2 separate regions of the Homo sapiens genome follow, and region 1 is linked to region 2. The links are contacts of gene promoters, found by promoter capture Hi-C in blood cells and fetal thymus (Javierre and others, 2016). All regions are on one chromosome and are shown on one strand. Each heading gives the region's core, a stretch centred on a gene start or on the middle of the fragment in contact. The rest is flanking DNA. Distances are from core to core; before and after follow the strand shown.

Region 1 (3,750 bases), core at 928-3,427, 190 kb after region 2:
TTATAAAATTCTCCTTCATCTGTACTTGAGCCCCGCTCTTTAAAAAGGTGCTGACCCTTAATCCCAGTCAGTTCTGAGTTTCCTTTGCAGTTTCCATTTTGGGTTTGGGGTGGGGTGGAGTGCAGGGTTCTAGACTCTCAGTGACCTACAAAGGGTCCTGCCCTTCATGTCATCTATCCTTGTCCCATCTGGTCCTGGGTCGTTGGTGCCTGCAGGTTATTGTGGAGGTCAAAGTCTCTCTCCACCTCTTCAAGCAGCCTCACTCAGGGAGCTTGCCTGGGGTCCTCTTGGCCTAGATACACCCAGCAGCTGTTCTGTTCCCTGCTCTCAGATCCACAGATTGTGAGGGATGCTGCTTTCTCTGTGGGGCTCAGTCCAGGGAGCGGGGATTGGGACCTCAGCCTCCAGGACCTAGCAAAGTCAATGTTTCTCAACTTCCCTCCAGCCTTTGTCCTTGCCCTGGGGAATTATTCTTGGATATGAGTGAGGGGCAGGGAATGCCTTGATCTTTCTCATGACCATTTTCTCCCACACTTTGGTCTAGGTCTAGGCCAGAAGTCTCTTCTATTCCCCTAAGGAAAGAGGCTCCTTACCTCTTCTTTCTGTTTTCACACACCTTCCCTGCAGCAATGAGCATAGAATGGCCTGGCTATTTGAGGCAGGGAAGGGAGAGAGGTAAGGGGAGTATCAGGCTGGAGAAGGCATTGGCTAATATTTCAGAACATAATCTTGCAAGGCATATAAAAATATCTTATACAAGATGTGCTTCCTGTTTTAACTATTATGATTTTATAATTTTTCAGATCTTGTAGGCAAGACTCCCTATTCCCATCCCCCAGGCCAGGGCAGCCAGTTATCAGCTGTGTGAACTTGGGCAAATTATGTTATCCTCTCTAAGCTTTAGTTTTTTCGTCTGTAAATGAGGATAATAGTAGTTCATATCAGTGCTTCTACTTGCCAAGCACTGCTCTCAATGTTTCATGTATGTTACCTCATTTAATACTCATCATAAACCTATGGGATAGCTGCTATCATTCCCATTTTACAGATGAGGAAACCACTTCTCACAGTTGTAACTTGCCCAAAGTCATGTGATCTCCTGCTCTTAATCACTTCCCCAACCTGTCTTTCATAAATATTAATAATGACCTCAGCCAGGCGTGGTGGCTTACTCCTGTAATCCCAGCACTTTGGGAGGCTGAGGTGGGAGGATTGCTTGAGCCCAGGAGTTCAAGACCAGCCTGGGCAACATATTGAGACCTCATCTCTACAAAAAATTAAAAAGTAGCCTGGTATGGTGTGGCACCTGCCTATAGTCCCAGATATTTGGGAGGCTGAGGCAGGAGAATCGCTTGAGCCTGGGAGGTCAAGGCTGTAGTGAGCTGTGATAGTGCCACTGCACTCTAGCCTAGGTGACAGAGTGAGAATGCTGTCTCCACAATAAATAAATAAATAAATGAAATGACCTCTTGAGGTTGCTGTGAGGATTAATTGAGGTAAGGTATGTAAAGCTGTCAGCCCTGAGCCTAGCACATAGTAAAAACTCAGTACATTCTAAGCTCATACTTTAGCCATGATTTTTTGGTCATTTTCATTCAAAATGCCCTTGGAATTGTATTTAAAATATATATAAATGTCTGAACTTAAGCATATTTGCCCTATTCAGTTTTCCCATCCAGAAATATGATGTCTTATTATGTGTTTCTTAGCAAAGTTTTGCCACGTGTCCTCATATAAAACATGCATTTCTAGGCGAGTTTATTTCTAGATGTTTTAGGGTTTTTGTTTTTATTGAAAATGAAATCTTTTCCTCCATTGTATCTTTTGATCAGACAGTGCTGGTGTCTCCAGGTTCTTATTAGTTAATCAGCTCCCAGATGTCTCTAGAGGCTATGTCTTTCCATAGCCCTCTTATTTTAGGTTGACATGAAGATCATTTGGCCCAGCCAGTGACATACGCTCTGAGAGAGAGGCACAGGGGCACAGGGTGAGAAGTAGCTTTCCAGGGTAGCTCAGGTTGGCTGAGGTGATCAGAGAACTGTCCTTTGGCTAAGGAAGTACAGCCTGGGGAGAGGGGAAGGAAGGGGCCAGCCCTTGCTTGGCTGCATGCTGTTTCTGGGTCCATTTGGGGATCTGTCTGAAGAACGAGTTCCTAGGTACCCACATTTCCTCTGTGGCCTCAATGATTCCCAATAGTGTGTGCCAAATGATGGCTCCAGTGGCAGCTCTGCCAAGGCCCAAGATGCCTCCGTGGGCTCTAGCTTGCTTAAGTAGAGAGACTGTCATCCAGCAATGTCTCATTCTTCATCATGTGATTAAGAGCAGGAGATCACATGACTTTGGGCAAGTTACTTACAACTGTGAGAAGTGGTTTCCTCATCTGTAAAATGGGAATGATAGCAGCTATCCCATAGGAAGTGGAGGATACATAATCTGTGGCGTCCCTGAATCAGCTCCCTGCCTGACTCCACTGCAGACCTCCAGAGGGCAGCAGAGAGCAGGCAAGACGGGAGAACAGGACTTGGTTCCTGGAGAAGCAAAAAAGACTCTCTGCTCCTGCAAGCTGCTAGGAATACTGCTCATCCCCCTCCCCGCCTCCTCAGGATACACATGTGAGCTTCTTCCTGAGGGTGTAATAATTATAATAATATTATTAGTTAATACTAACTATTCCCTGTGGGCCAGACATTGACCTAAGGTTTCACATTGATTCAGATAACCATTGAGGTAGATATAATTATTATTCGCATTTTTTTTCAGTTGAGGAAATTGCAGTGAAAAAAAAAAGAAGTTGTCCAAGATGCCACAGTTAGTTGAGTCAGGATTTGGACCCAATCATTTATGAGCCAGGCTCTATTCTAGGTATCAGAGATACATCAGTGAATAAGACAAACTTTCTGCCATATTGGAGGAACAGACAAAAAGTGAACAAATGAATAAACACATACTGTGGTTTTGGATAGAAATGCCATTTAGACAAATAAAGCAGAGTTAATGACCAGAGAGGGGCATTTTAGATGGGCTGGTCAGGGAAGGTTTTCTTGGGTAGATGGCATTTGACCAAATAGTTGAATACACGAGGTAGCAAGTCAGGCTGAAGATTAGGGAAACAGTAAGTGCAAAGGTCCTGAGGTGGGAATGAGCCTGGGGTGTTAGAGGAACAGCAAGACTTGCGTCGTGGCTGCTGTAGAGTGAGCCGAGTCCATAGGCCACAGCAGCGATTGGGAAGTAGATAGGGGTGGTGAAGAAAGAGAACTCCTCCACAGCATCACCTGGGCTTGGCCTCTTACAATGTCTCAGCTTCTCTTTAACATATCTCTCACCTTTTTTCACCTTCCTGCAGAGTGCTGACACCATCACAGTATGTTCCCTTCTCAACCCTGGACATGGTTCAGAAACAGCTAAAGCAGACAAGAATCTGGGGCAGCCAATATTGTACCACCTGCCAAAGCTTGGCACAAACAATCTGGAAGCCAAAAATTGCACATACTGTGGTGAGTACTGCCCAGCCTGTGGGGAACTTCTTGTGGGTAAAGGTTCTAGATAAGCCTGCCAGGGCCCCCAAATGAATCCTTAGTCCCATTAACAAGGGCCTAAGTCCCGCAGGCCTTTCCAGGGTAGGAAGCTGCTATTTTCTTCAAAGAATTTTGCCCCCATGCCATGGTCCTAGGTCAGACCTACCTAAATCCTTTCAGATGTCAAACCCAGGTAGGGTTCAGATGGCATTTAGCCAGGAGATGGAAGGGAATC
Region 2 (3,575 bases), core at 146-2,645:
TAGCTGCATCAGTTTGAATGTATTCCACATTGGTTTGGGGGAGTCCCAGGTCTCTGGCTGGACGCTGAGCAGAGCTAACAATGCCGGATGTGATCGTGTTCTGCAGTGCAAAGGGACTTCCCATGGCAACAACAAACTCCCCTTGCCGGACATCAGCTGAGCGTCCCAGAGGCAGCGTGGGGAGAGGCTCCTAAGGGAGAATGGGTAAAAGAGACCTGTCATCTGAAGATGCGAGCAAATAAGCAGCTCCAACCAGACCTGGCCTACCCCAGCCCCCACCTTAGTCTGAATCCTCAGCGTTGCGATGTCTGCCACGGGATCCACAGCTGTGACCACGGCCTCATACGTGTCGCCGCTTAGCAGTCTCACACGGACTCTGCGCCGATCAGCCACCACATGGGCGTTGGTGACAATGAGCCCATCGGCAGCCACCACGAATCCTGAGCCGTTCGAGATAGGGACCTCGCGGCCCAAGAAAGGGTGCCTGAAATGGAGGGAAAGCACAGATAAGAGGAGGCTCTGACCCCTCCTACCCGCCCGCCCTCCAGCCTGTGGCTTCAGTGCCTCCCGGTCTACCCCCACCATTACCGGTCCAGGATCTCGATATAGACCACGGCAGGTGCTGTCTTCTCCACCACATCTGCGATGAAGTTGTACTGACTCCGGGGAGAAGCGGGCGGCGGGCTAGGGACGGCGGCGAGGACGGCCGGAGGACCCCGACCCCCGCCCCACAACAACAACAGCACTGCCCCCCCAGCGCCCAGCGCCACCGCCAGCCACGCGCGCGAACGGGTTCCAGAGTTCTCTGAGGCCTCCCGGGTCCTGGTATCTGGGGTCACCGCAGTCAGTTGTGCCCGGGGACCCGGGGTCCCAGACGTCAGGCATGCTCGGGGTTCAGTGACCCCAACAGACAACCGGGCCCAGAGACTGGGGGTCCCATAAGTCACTCGGGCCCGGGGGTCAGAAGTTCCTGACGTCAGCAGGGCCCGGAGGTCAGGGGTCAAACGGGGTCTCCTCCCCCAGCGAATGCCCCCCAAAGCCCGCCATGCCCGAAGGCTCCAGCCTGCACCCCGCCCCGCCCTCGGCGCAGCCATCAGCTCCGCCTTGGCTGCCTCCTCGCCCGCCCTACTCAGAGGCGGCACCCAGGACGCGAGCAGGCGGACAGTAGGACGCGGGGCACGCCGGTACCTGAAGTCCTTCAGAAGTGCACGCCGGGACCAGGATTCCGGGAGGCCGACTCCTCCCTGCCCCACGAATGCCGGGAATTGTGGTCTCCGCCGGACGCGAGTTGTGAGACGGCCCAAGGGGCCGCGGGGTATGCTGGGACCGCTAGCCCTTCCGGCGCGCCTCAGGACTTCGGGTCCCCTCACCCCGGGCGGATGCCCAAAGACTCCGCCTTCCCAAGAGCCCCTGCGGCCGGGCGCGAAAATGGCGGCGGCGGCGACGGCCGGGCGCTCCTGAAGCAGCAGTTATGGAGCTTCCCTCAGGGCCGGGGCCGGAGCGGCTCTTTGACTCGCACCGGTAAGAGACCCGGCGGGAAGAGACCGATCCCCGCGTGCTCTCGGCCTTCGGCGCCTGACCACTTCGCCTCTCGCCCCCAGGCTTCCGGGTGACTGCTTCCTACTGCTCGTGCTGCTGCTCTACGCGCCAGTCGGGTTCTGCCTCCTCGTCCTGCGCCTCTTTCTCGGGATCCACGTCTTCCTGGTCAGCTGCGCGCTGCCAGACAGCGTCCTTCGCAGGTTCCGACGCGGGCGTTCGGGGAGTGTCAGAGCTGGGTCTGGCCCGAGGCCACACAGTCACCACCTCCTGTGTCCCCAGATTCGTAGTGCGGACCATGTGTGCGGTGCTAGGGCTCGTGGCCCGGCAGGAGGACTCCGGACTCCGGGATCACAGTGTCAGGGTCCTCATTTCCAACCATGTGACACCTTTCGACCACAACATAGTCAATTTGCTTACCACCTGTAGCACCGTGAGTGAGAGCGAGGCCGAGAGCGCCACGGGGCGGTTCCCTGGGGCCCAGCTGAAGGCCCCCCTGTCCCCACTCGCGTTCCCCATGGAGGATACTGAGCCTTACCCCTAACCCCGATCCTCTACCCAACATGTCAGTTTTTTTTTTCATTTTCCTCAATATTTTTCTTCTTGCTTTCTCTTCTCCTGGTTCCCAGCCTCTACTCAATAGTCCCCCCAGCTTTGTGTGCTGGTCTCGGGGCTTCATGGAGATGAATGGGCGGGGGGAGTTGGTGGAGTCACTCAAGAGATTCTGTGCTTCCACGAGGCTTCCCCCCACTCCTCTGCTGCTATTCCCTGAGGAAGAGGCCACCAATGGCCGGGAGGGGCTCCTGCGCTTCAGGTGGGTTTAGCACAGGTATGGGGCGCCAGCTGGGTAGGTGGTCAAGCTTGTGGGCCCTTGAGTTTTTACAACTTTCTTCGGCCCTTAGACCCCATCATCTCCAGTTCATTTCCTTTCTGTCCACTTTAAGTTCTTTCTCCTGAATCCCTTCATTCTTCAATTATGTGCTTGTAGAGTTTGACAGTTGCCTGTTATAAGGCAGGTGTGAGCTGCTGACTAGGCTGGCTGGATTCCCATCCTACTTTCTCCTTCCTCTTCTAGTTCCTGGCCATTTTCTATCCAAGATGTGGTACAACCTCTTACCCTGCAAGTTCAGAGACCCCTGGTCTCTGTGGTGAGTGTGTGTTGAACAGGGAATCTCTGGGGCTTGAAGGGGAAATTTCCCATCCCTGGCCCTGGCTTAGGCCTCATCTCATGCCCTCCCCTCAGACGGTGTCAGATGCCTCCTGGGTCTCAGAACTGCTGTGGTCACTTTTCGTCCCTTTCACGGTGTATCAAGTAAGGTATTAACTGTCCTCACATTTTGGTCGCTGGGGAGAGGCTCACCTCAAGGTCAAGGAATTAGTGGCCTCTGCCCTGTCCATTTGTAGATCTTTATATCAAGGTTCTACCACAGAGGCAACACAAAGTATTTACAGTATTTACTATTTTCCCACCCACCATGCAAAGAGGTACCAAAGTGGGGAATGGTGACAGCCTCTACCCTGGGTGCCCACAACATAGCCCTGGATTGTTTCTTTGCAGGTGGCTTCGTCCTGTTCATCGCCAACTAGGGGAAGCGAATGAGGAGTTTGCACTCCGTGTACAACAGGTGGTCGGGTGCACAGACAGGGTGGAGGCGGGGTCCCTGCTTAGGAGGAGAGGGAGGAAAGCTTGAGATCTTGACACTTCCAGTCTTCCAATTCTCCCTAGCTGGTGGCCAAGGAATTGGGCCAGACAGGGACACGGCTCACTCCAGCTGACAAAGCAGAGCACATGAAGCGACAAAGACACCCCAGATTGCGCCCCCAGTCAGGTATGTGGTCTCTATACATTACAGCTTTTGGGGTTTTTTTTTTTCGGCCTACTGTGATTCCTCCCCTATTTCTGTGCTAGTTAGCCTCTCCTTCTAGTTCTCTACTTACCAGAATTTCTTTTTTCTTTTTTTCCTTTTTCCACAGCCCAGTCTTCTTTCCCTCCCTCCCCTGGTCCTTCTCCTGATGTGCAACTGGCAACTCTGGCTCAG

Evidence for each region. The method cuts DNA at HindIII sites, captures the fragments that hold promoters and counts their contacts. A CHiCAGO score of 5 or more calls a contact.
Region 1: a fragment that was not itself captured here is called in contact with the fragment with the promoter of AUP1 in region 2 in 1 of 17 cell types (M2 macrophages); the score reaches 5.7 in M2 macrophages.

What each region holds. Positions count from the first base shown.
Region 1 is chr2:74,333,771-74,337,520 of GRCh38, reverse strand. SLC4A5 (solute carrier family 4 member 5) reads left to right here. Exons shown (of 31, transcript NM_133478.3): 4 at 3,344-3,494. Among named protein-coding and RNA genes, the nearest start is that of SLC4A5, 7.8 kb to the left of the region's middle. RefSeq lists an enhancer at 2,385-2,574. The HindIII fragment of the contact is 2,553 bases long and covers 901-3,453 here.
Region 2 is chr2:74,527,526-74,531,100 of GRCh38, reverse strand. It overlaps AUP1 (AUP1 lipid droplet regulating VLDL assembly factor), which reads left to right and starts at 1,395. Exons shown (of 12, transcript NM_181575.5): 1 at 1,395-1,521; 2 at 1,602-1,739; 3 at 1,819-1,969; 4 at 2,166-2,350; 5 at 2,612-2,684; 6 at 2,780-2,853; 7 at 3,095-3,161; 8 at 3,263-3,365; 9 at 3,511-3,575. The coding sequence starts at 1,472. It overlaps HTRA2 (HtrA serine peptidase 2), which reads right to left and starts at 1,168. Exons shown (of 8, transcript NM_013247.5): 1 at 589-1,168; 2 at 280-484; 3 at 1-190. The coding sequence starts at 1,094. RefSeq lists enhancers at 62-271, 282-361, 392-461, 482-611, 1,067-1,949 and 1 more and a silencer at 1,002-1,091. The HindIII fragment of the contact is 3,652 bases long and covers 1-2,398 here.